3 separate regions of the Homo sapiens genome follow, and all the other regions are linked to region 3. Evidence: promoter capture Hi-C in 16 types of primary human blood cells and fetal thymus (Javierre and others, 2016). All regions are on one chromosome and are shown on one strand. The core of a region is centred on a gene start or on the middle of the fragment in contact, and the rest is flanking DNA. Distances in the headings are between cores, read along the strand shown. Region 1 overlaps FLT3 (fms related receptor tyrosine kinase 3). Region 2 overlaps CDX2 (caudal type homeobox 2). Region 3 holds the start of RASL11A (RAS like family 11 member A).

Region 1 (3,550 bases), core at 224-2,723, 780 kb after region 3:
CTAGCCAATGAAACAGAATGTGAGTCACAACTTCAAGCCTTGTACATCATTTACAAATTCTGTTGGCTGTATAAAGTAAAAGGAAGCAGGTGAAATTAAGTTTAATAACATATTTCGCTGAATGCGATATATCCAAAATACTATCATTTTAATATATAATCAATGTAAAAATTGTTTTAATTTTATTATTATTTTTTCTTTTTGAGGCAGGTTCTTGCTCTGCATCCAGGCTGGAGTGCGGTGACGTGATCATGGCTACTGCAGCCTCGACCACCTGGGCTCAATCAATCCTCCAACCTCAGCCTCCCAAGTAGCTGGGACTAAAGGTGTACACCACCACACTCAACTCATTTTTGTATTTTCTGTAGAGATGGGATTTTGCCATGTTATCCAGGCTGGTCTCAAACTCCTAGGATCAAGCGATCCACCCGCCTTGGCTTCATAAAGTGCTGGGATGACAGGTGTGACCCACCGAGCCCGGCCAATATAAAAATTATTAATAATATATTTTACATTCTTTTTTTCATACTAAGTCTTCAAAATCTAGTGTGTATTTTACAATTAGAGTACATCTCAATTTGGACCAGACACACTTCAAGCTCTCAATAGCCACATGTGGCTGGTGGCTACCGTACCGGACAGCACAGATCTAGACCTGTGATAGGAATCACCAAAGGTTCTCATTAAAAAAGCAGAGTCTGAGCGTTTTGCCCCAGTTTTGAGTCAGCATGTCTGGAATGGGAGCCAGGAATCCACATTTTAAACATTTGCTCAGATGATTCTTACACAGTTGTTCAACAGACCACATGCTGAGAAAGGATGATTTATTCTAGTCCATTGACTTGTTTGAAAGATAACATGTGCGTCTCAGTGTCTCATAGCCTAGTCCAAAACCATGTTCCATAGCATTAGTTTAAAGAGACAAGAGATGTCATAACTATAGAAGATATAGGGGAAAGTTGTTTTTTGTTTTCCAAAGAAGGAATGGAGAATTCCTCCCACAAGAGAATCTTTCGGCTGGGTGCAGTGGCTCACGCCTGTAATCCCAGCACTTTGGGAGGCCCAGGTAGGGTGAATCTCCTGAGCTCAAGAGTCCGAGACCAGCCTGCGCAACATGGCAAAACCCTGTCTCTACCAAAAATACAAAAAATTAGTCAGGTGTGGTGGTGTGCACCTGTGGTACCAGCTACTTGGGAGGCTGAGGTGGGAGGATCACTTGAGCCTGGGAGGTGGAGGTTGCAGTGAGCCAATATTGCACCACTGCACTATAGCCTAGGTGACAGAGTGAGACCTCATCTCAAAAAAAAAAAAAAAAAGAAAAAGAAAAAGAAAAGAAAATTTGTTGTTCTTAAAAAAAAGAATCTTGCATAGTTTCTCATACAAATCCCGAGGAAAACAACATTTTCCTTCAGCACTTACTATTGGGCTATTTCTGCATGTATTTTTTGAAAATTTAAATCAATACACCTATGAGTAATGTTTTTCTGTTTTTAAGGAGTTTTACTTCCTCAATCATCTGCAAATGTTTTAGGGGAGACTCAGTGTCCTACACACCGCACTCTCAAACAGGAAGTAAAAACTACCTTGTGACTCAGAAAATGCCAGAGAACCAGACTCAAACTAGACCAGACTAATACGGTTCTTTCTGTTTTCATGCAGCAGGTTATATTATCTAAAGTAATGGTAAGACTGCTACTGTATCCTCACATCTGCTTATTGTTTTCTTATCTCCAATTTCAACTCAATAATAGTTAAACTCATAAGTGAATTTGCTTCCATAAGTATAAAACTGTCCTTCTCAAGGGCGACAAGCAAGGAGAATTATGCTAAAAATGGTATCTTAGAGTCCTTTGTGGTCTCACCTGTATCCGTTATCAAGACCCTTTTGCTCACAAGGAAATGATTTTCGAGAGAAGGTCCACGTACATCTGATTTGTGGGTAGGCTTTAAACCTGACAGAAAAACAAAACTCTTCATATTGGTCAATTTCATAATCTTCACTTGAATTGGTAGCATTTATAAATCCCTTTTCTGTAAGAAAAAATAGGCATTTATGAGTTAGTTAATAATATTCATAGGGAAACGTATTGAGAAGATAAAATAAACTTGTATTCATCAGTTTAACACAGGAAAACTCAAGTGTTGGCATGCTGCAGGTCAGGTTGGATAATCCAAGTGAAAACCCAGGAGTCCTATCCCTAGTTCTAAGCCTGAGCTCATCATCTTTCGAAGTTAAGAAATGTTTAAAAAAAGAAAGAAGGAAAGAAAAAGAATGGGATGTAGATAATTGACTGTCTGGCCCCTGCTCTCAGCCAGCACCACTCTTCCATTGATGAGAGAGAGTAAAATAAACTCAAGGCACAAATAAAAGAGCGATCTGGCTAGCAATATTCACGAGGTTGCCTTATGGAACACTTCCTTATTAATCTGCTAAGAGCATCGCTGTATTTCTCGGCATTTTCATTATGGCTGAACGCTGTGCCCTAATCTGAGATTATTGAACTGTGGTTATTTTCAGATCCTACATACCCCACCAAAATTTCAGTGCATCTAAGGGCTTGTACTGTCTCTCAGTGCTCACTGCCCTAACAGTGCGGTTAGTTGGTTCTTAGAACTAGTATTTATTGTCCATTTTGTGTCAGGCTCTGTGTCAGGTTCTGGAACTACAAGGATAGAATGAGTTGTTCTTGTCCTTAAGAAACTTACAGTCTACTGGAGGATAAAAGTACACAAACAGATGGTCATATTACAATGTGTTATATGCAAAGACAGTGGCATTCAAGCGAGCCTGGTTTAACGGGAAAAGGAAGAGGGTGGGCAGATTATCTTTGCAAAGCTATTCTAACTCAGTTTCTTTCTTAGTGTTTGATAGTAGCATTATATTGAAATCAGAATTTGTACCACATACTTCACATTCCACACTACAGCGACTAAAAATAGGAATAAAGATTGTGTGAGCAGCCTGCATTACCTACGATGGTAACCAAAGCTGATTGACTGGGATGCTTTGAAGAGGAACAAGTGTAGTATCCGGTGTCGTTTCTTGCCACTGATGATACAAAAGCAAACAGAATCCGTATCATAGTTCTGTTTGTTGAATAGGTACTCATCTCAAAGTAGTTGCCCTAGGTTTTAATAAAACAGAGTTTGCATTTAATGTTTTCAATCCAGACTATTAGTTAATTGTTCCTGCATTTTCAGAATACAAACTTGTCCTATTACCTCCTCGAGTGCTTTGTTTTCTAATTCCCAGGTGAGCCCGAATCCATGGTTCACATGAACAGCTTTGCACCTTATCCATAAGGGTTCCCCTACTTTAAGAAATAATTGTGGCAATGTGGTCTGAGGAGTTTGATTTAGATCTAGGAGATGAAAACATCCCAAGTGAGAAAAAAAAAGTGATTTTTGCCTCATCACAAAAGATATCCTGAACATTCTGAACAAAGACTTTAGCATCATCTCAAATATTACTAACCACATTAATAAAAGAAGCTTTTAGAGACTGACTCCTCTTTTATGAAGAAATCAGCATTTACAGAATCCATAATAT
Region 2 (3,627 bases), core at 22-2,521, 690 kb after region 3:
AATCGCTTGAACCCGGGAGGCAGAGGTTGCAGTGAGCTGAGACCGCGCCATTGCACTTCAGCCTGCACAACAAGAGTGAAACTGCGTTTCGACGGTGGCGGGTGGGGGGGCATGTACTCCAGGCCAGGCATGGTGGTTCACACCGGTAATCTCAGCACTTTAGGAGTCCAAGACAGGAGGAGCATTTGGAGTTTGAGACCAACCTGGGTAAGACAGTGAGACCATCTCTGCAAAAAATTTAAACATTAGCCAGTCATGGTGGCTCGAGCCTGTAGTCCAAGCTACTCAGGTGACTGAGGCAGGAGGATCCCTTCAGCTCAGGAAGTCAGGGCTGCAGTGAGCTATGATTGTGCCACTACACTCCAGCCTGGGCCACAAAGCAAGACCCCATCTCTGTTTAAAAAAAAAAAAAAAAAAAAAAAGGACTCCAAAGACGAATGCTTGCATCCTCCTGCTTCAGTCTCTCCACAGATTTAGATGGCCCCTGCAGCCAGATTTTCTAACTCTCATGGTCCTCTGCCAGGCAGTGGCCCGCCCGGAGGGAGCTAGGCGGTCCCCACCTGCCTCTCAGAGAGCCCCAGCGTGGCGGCTAGCTCGGCTTTCCTCCGGATGGTGATGTAGCGACTGTAGTGAAACTCCTTCTCCAGCTCCAGCCGCTGGTGGTCCGTGTACACCACTCGATATTTGTCTTTCGTCCTGGTTTTCACTGTGGAGGAAGGAGAAGTGAGGGCTGAGAACTGCAAGGCAGCCCATCAGTCATGGGTAATGACAAACCTCCCTAACCCAGGGACATTTCTCTTCCTCCACCACCCTGGGGGGCCCGGGTTTGGCTGGTTCCTGCCAAGTCTGACAAGACCCCCCAGAGGGTCCTGTGGGGGGAGGGTATGAGGCTAGTGGAGGCAACTAAACTAACCTTGGTATTAAGTGGTTTTTAAAAATTAAGGAAAGTGAAAACCTCATTCACACAGAAGACAGCAGAATGTAACCACCCTTTCGGTAAACCAAATACAGTACTGGCATATATTTGACACCAAGGGAAAGGGGGCAGGGTGAAGTGGCCGGGATCCTGGAAGCATCCAGATTTCCAGGCCTACCAGAGATGGAAGCCCACCCCGAAAACAGCTGTCATTGTGGGCACATGTTGTAGAGGGGGTGTGGGGGTTACTACTTTGCTTTACTACAAGTGGAAAGCGGGGCTCAGGAGCTGACAAGTCGCCAGAATCATCCCCCAGACACACCAGGCCCATCAGGTGGAATTCTGAGCTGGGCTCTGGCCGAGGGAACAGGCAGAAAACCCCTCCTGCTGGGGACACTTTATACCTGCCCAGACCAGGTTTGGCGTTTGGTACTTTTTCTTTTTTGATCCTCCATTTATTCCTGCTGCAAATCCGGCCAGAGTTATCCTGACCAGTGATCTATGCTCATTGGATTGAGTCAACATATTAAATCCCAGATTGATTGTTTTACTGAAGGGCCTTGACAAATAGTGTCCACAATGTTGGAGCAGGCCCGAGCCTGGCGTCTCCACCAGGTCTGTCTTGGCTCAGCCCTTGGCAGAGCCCTGGCCAGAAGCTGTTCTCTCTGGCTCCGTCCCACTTTTGGGTCTTCTTGCAGCTGAACAGGTTCAATCGCCCAGTGCCCAATCCCACAGAAAGATCTGAAGGGCCTGGGAGTTGCCTGGAGGTGTTTAATGCCCCGCAGGCTGACTTTGTTCAGGTAAAACCCTTTGCAAACCACAACAAAAGCGTCCTGGGAAGATACAGGCCTGATCAGAGGGAGCTCCCCCGAGCCGCTGAAAGGCCAACACAGCCGCAAACAATGCAGGACAAGGCGATCTTATCAAAGAAAAGCCCTTTCAATGCCTTAATAACAACCACATTCTGTTTGAATTACCACTACTGAGCAAATGGCGGCCCCGGCTTTCATCCCCCTCCCCGCCAGGCGCATTAACATAAACACGACCCTGCAGGCGCATTTGAATGGGGCTGCGGCCCCGACCCCGCGCCTGCTATGAAAGTAAAGGGAACTAACGCGACTTTCTCCGCGGTGGACGCTCGGACACGCGTGACCGCCTCAAACCCACTCCAGGCTGCCATTGGTACTCGCCCCTTTTTACAGATGAGGAAATGGAGAATCAGACCGGGTCACGCAGATAGTATCAGGCGGGGTTGGCACCGGAGCCTGGCTGGAGCCACAGAGGACACCTCCGGAGCTGAGGCGCAGGGCAGTTCCCTCAGCCGAACACCCCGGGAGGGAGACTCGCCTGGAAGTGTCTCGGAGCGACCCTTGCTCGGGTGCTGCCCCTTCAGTGTCCCGGACGTGCCGGGCAACGCGATGACCAGACCCTGAGCGCTCTTCGACCCATGCCCCAAGGGCCTTGGAGGCGCCCCACACCCCCTGGGAACCTAGGAGCGGGGCTATGGAGGGGAGGGATGAGAGGGACTTGTCAGAATTCATTATTGACTGCGAAAGTCACCACCCTCTTTCCGGGCCCTAAAAGAGACAATGGCAGGGCTGGGAAGGTGTATATCAAAGCAAGCCAGGCCGCGTCCCCCCCTCCACCCCCACACCTTGACAGATGACGCTCCGCAGAGGAGCCCGGCTCCGGCCCGCGGGCTGCGGCCACCCCACATTAACATCACAAGGGCACCCGGCGCCGACTGCGGCCTTGCCACCTCGGCGCAGGACTTCACAGCGGCCTCTCATCTGCTGACCCCGCGGCCTGGGCTCTGGCGGCTTCCCTCCCGCCCCCTTCCCGGCCCTCACCCCGCGGCCGCTCTCCCGGGACACGCAAAGGTCTTCCTTAGGGCGTGCGCCACCCCCGCCAACCGCGCCCCAGACAGGGGCTGTAGAAAGTGGGTCTTTGGGAGCCAGGATCTGGGAGCCCCTGCTAGGAGAAAGGCGCCTCCTCTAGGAGAAGGGACCAAGCCAAAGCTCTGAGGCTCACCCGAGGCTGATCTGTGGCCTTCTCCCCGGTCGGCGGCATTCCCACCAGGACTCTCCCTAGCATGTGCACAGTGACGCAGAAACCGATGCCCAGAGACAGCCCCCAAAGGGCGCTTTGATTTATACAGTTGTAATTGGCTATAAACTTCTGCAAAGTGCCCATAACCAGCGTGCCTGCCCAATTGGGGCATCAAGGAGCGAAGCAAGAAAAGCGGAAGCGCTGAGGGCTGGGGAAAGACTTTAAAAGGGGCACTCAACTAGGACTCTCCCCACCGCACTTCCTTGCCACCTCTAGGCACACTCGAACACCAGAAGGGGCAGACCCAGAGTCAATGAGCCCCACAGTCCGGCAAACCTAGGATCTTTTTCAGTTGCACACACACACTCACAGACATCCCTGACACCCTTGAAAGGAAGCTTTGGGAGAAATGACCCCTACCTGGAGCGGCGGCTTAATTCCCACCAGGGTTTCCTCCCCGTCTCCCTGCTCTCTCCGCAGACGCCTGCCCCTAGGCTTCTTGCCCCTAGCCTTCCAGCTTTTGCTTGAAATGACCCCTTCACAGGTCAGAGGTTCAGAGACGGGGCGCGCCCCCGTCGCCTTAGCAGCTGGGGCTAGCACCTTCTTCCCAGCGACAGCAGCTCTCCCTGGTCTGCCTGCTCGCTGTACCTTGAATTGGCCCG
Region 3 (3,255 bases), core at 406-2,905:
ATGCAGCAGAAGGGATGGGTTCCTTCTCAAGGCCTAGGTCTCAAGAGGCCTTATCCATTTCCACCCACTCTCTTGGAACTCTGCTCAGCTACCATGAAGGCAGGCCCTGGCCAACGTGCTGAATGAGAAGAGACATGTAACTCAGTCACTACCCTCCCTCATCACAGCCAACAGCTGCCAGACATGAGTAAGGCTATCCAAGGGCAGCCAGCCCCCACTTCCAGAACCTGGAAGCTCCCTGCAGATGCATCAAAGGGCTCAACAACTGTAAGTGATTGTTGTTCTAAGCCATCTAGTTTGGTGTGGCTTGTCATGCAGCAAAAACTGGTACAACCAGGGTAGAGAAAGGTATGAATTAGGGTGGGGCTGTCTAATAGGCGATTAGGCAAGTGAGGCTGGAACACAGGAGGTCAGAGGCATGAAGGTCTTCTAACTGTTCAAGGTTAAAGTCCTGAGGCTTCTGCTGTGCTATTTCTGGTGGGCTCCAGAAATCCAAGAACCAGTCTATAGCTCTGTGTCCTGTTCCTCACACTGCCCCCCACCCCACCCTAGACCCCACCATGCACCTAGAAGTAAATATTTGGATACTGAAGCAAATGCATGACTCAAGCACATAGGATAGTATTAATGATGGACACTTAGTGCAGGGCCAGGGCCCCCAGCCAGTGGAGTGCTCATGAGTGTTCAGGAATGAGCCAGTGCAACCCCTGCCTGCAGAGGAGGGGCTGGGCATGGATACTGAGATGCTAACCATCACTGCCCCTAAGGGGACTTCATCTATCCCTAGCAAGGTCACAGTGACTGCAGTTGCCTCCACTGATACTAATTCAGAGCTCTTGCCCCCCGCCCCCCGCCCTTTTCCCATATTAATGTTACCCCTTAGCATCTTTTCTTTTCTTTCTTTTTTTTTTTTTTTTGAGACGGAGTTTCGCTCTTGTGGTCCAGGCTGGAGTGCAGTGGTGCCATCTCGGCTCACTGCAACCTCCGCCTCCCTAGTTCAAGCGATTCTGCTGCCTCAGCCTCCCGAGTAGTTGGGATTACAGGCGCCCACCACCACGCCCCGCTAATTTTTGTATTTTTAGTAGAGACAGCGTTTCGCCATGTTGGCCAGGCTGGTCTTGAACTCCTGACCGCAGATGATCTTGCCCACCTGGGCCTCCCAAAGTGCTGGGATTACAGGCGTAAGCCACCGCGCCCAGCCCCTTAGCACCTTTTAAAAATAAAAAGGGCAGCGTTTTACAGCAATCTGTCCCATTGTTGCAGAAACATCCAACTGATTGCACTTTTTCTTCTTCTCTCGTCAACTCGTAACTCCTATCTCAAGTTCACCCACAGGTCTAGTGACTCCGGCTGGCTGCTGCGGGGCGAGGAGACTCGCAGAATGCCTGACTAGAGGCCACTCGCGCGCTCTGGACGGTGGCCGTATCTCCAGGGTCTGAGCCCCGGAGCCGCAGTCCTGCCGCAGAGCGCCTGGAGCCGCGAGCAGCTAGCAGCCCGGCGAAGCGCACAGCCTCGGCGATAGTCAGCTCCGCGGCCTCTGCTCCCGCCCCTCCCGGCCGCTCCGGGAAGGGGCGGAGACGAGGAGGAGCTGGGACGGCCGCCGCGCTCCCGGGCGCACCAAGCCCTTTAAAAGCCGCGGGCCTTGACAGTTCTGCAGGCAGCCGCCGCGGTCCCGGACCTCTAGTCCCGCACTCCCAGCTGGCGAGCCGGCTCCGGGTGCGGCGAGGCCCAGCCCTCTCGGATTGCGCGCCGGACCCCGGGACGCGCTCCATGCGGCCGCTCAGCATGTCCGGGCACTTTCTGCTCGCACCCATCCCCGAGTCCTCCTCGGACTACCTACTGCCCAAGGACATCAAACTGGCGGTGCTGGGCGCCGGCCGCGTGGGCAAGAGCGGTGAGTGCGGCGGGGACCCCCGGGCGGCTTCGCTCCCCGGCTCCGGCCGCGACCACTGGGGGCGCTGCGGAGAGAGGGCGCCTCGGCCGAAGCAGAGGGCGCGGGTGCAGGTAGAATCGGGCTGCTTTCGCGCTGGGTGGGTCCCGGTCCGTCCCGGCCTGCTTCCCTGGCGTTTCCTGGTGCATCTACTCCTGGGATCTCGGCGGGATTGGCGCCTGTTCGGGGATGGGGTGCGGGAGAGGTGTCCCGCCAGTCGTACTCGCGGCCAAGCCCGCGGCACCACGGCTTTGCGGAGCCTCTGGAAGCGAGCAGTGCCCACGGTTCTGCACCCTTCACTCCCCCCAGTTTGTCCGAGGTGCCTGGGTTTGACAGGCTTGTTCTACTCCTTCGGTTGATTTTCCTATTTCCTTTTCAGCAATGATCGTGCGCTTCCTGACCAAGAGATTCATTGGAGACTATGAACCGAATACAGGTGAGAATACTTTCACGCTCCCTGCTTTTATGCTTGCGTGTTTCTTTTTACGGATGGGAGTTTGAGAATTAAAAAGCAAACTCTACTTCATTCTCCAGGCAAGCTGTATTCACGGCTGGTCTATGTCGAGGGGGACCAGCTCTCCCTGCAGATCCAGGATACTCCCGGGGGCGTCCAGGTAAGAACCGCCAGGGGCAAACAGCTCACCCCCACCCGTGAGACCACCCCAGTGGGCACAGCACGTAGGGCGCCCATGCTGGGCGCAGGGGTCTGAGCAAGGCATCTAAACCGACCTGTGCGTTTAGAGGGAGGAATGGGCTGTCCACAGGTGGGGCCAGTGGTTGGGGTGTTAGAAACTCTCTAAGGGGGAGGCATGGTTAGAAGCAGCCTCCTCTTGTTAAGCACCTGACTTAACTTCACTTTGCAACCCTGGTGGGCCATCACTACTTAAGCAGGTCTCACCATTTCTTCCGGAGGTAGCCATGGAACCATTAACAAAGAAAAAAACGTTTAAAACAAAACAAAACAAAACAAAAAAAGAGGTAGGATTCTGATGGGAGAGACTCTTCTCCCCTGGCAAGCTCTGCTTTTTTTGAGACGGAGTTTCACTCTTGCCCAGGCTGGAGTGCAGTGGCTGGATCTCAGCTCACTGCAACTTCCGCCTCCTAGGTTCCAGCGATTCTCCTCGATTCTCCTGCTTCAGTCTCCCGAGTAGCTGGGACTACAGGCACCCGCCGGAACTCCCAGCTATTTATCTATTTATTTATTTATTAGTAGAGATGGGGTTTCACTATGTTGGCCAGGCTGGTCTCGAACTCCTGACCTCAAGTGATCCGCCCACCTCGGCCTCCCAAAGTGGTGGGATTATAGGCATGAGCCACAGCGCCCG

Evidence for each region. Contacts are between HindIII fragments. The CHiCAGO score rates a contact against its expected background, and 5 or more counts as called.
Region 1: a fragment that was not itself captured here is called in contact with the fragment with the promoter of RASL11A in region 3 in 1 of 17 cell types (M2 macrophages); the score reaches 5.3 in M2 macrophages.
Region 2: a contact is called between a fragment that was not itself captured here and the fragment with the promoter of RASL11A in region 3, in 3 of 17 cell types (naive CD8 T cells, monocytes and M1 macrophages). The highest score is 5.3, in naive CD8 T cells.

Annotation. Positions count from the first base shown.
Region 1 is chr13:28,046,413-28,049,962 of GRCh38, forward strand. FLT3 (fms related receptor tyrosine kinase 3) reads right to left here. Exons shown (of 24, transcript NM_004119.3): 7 at 3,223-3,362; 8 at 2,972-3,125; 9 at 1,863-2,031. Among named protein-coding and RNA genes, the nearest start is that of FLT3, 52 kb to the right of the region's middle. The HindIII fragment of the contact is 4,034 bases long and covers 1-3,490 here.
Region 2 is chr13:27,964,310-27,967,936 of GRCh38, forward strand. CDX2 (caudal type homeobox 2) reads right to left here. Exons shown (of 3, transcript NM_001265.6): 2 at 561-706. Among named protein-coding and RNA genes, the nearest start is that of CDX2, 3.2 kb to the right of the region's middle. RefSeq lists enhancers at 1,473-2,164, 2,165-2,856. The HindIII fragment of the contact is 4,180 bases long and covers 1-3,361 here.
Region 3 is chr13:27,269,175-27,272,429 of GRCh38, forward strand. RASL11A (RAS like family 11 member A) reads left to right here and starts at 1,656. Exons shown (of 4, transcript NM_206827.2): 1 at 1,656-1,894; 2 at 2,310-2,366; 3 at 2,465-2,544. The coding sequence starts at 1,771. RefSeq lists an enhancer at 1,118-1,618 and silencers at 1,567-1,786, 1,827-2,056. The HindIII fragment of the contact is 11,897 bases long and covers 1-3,255 here.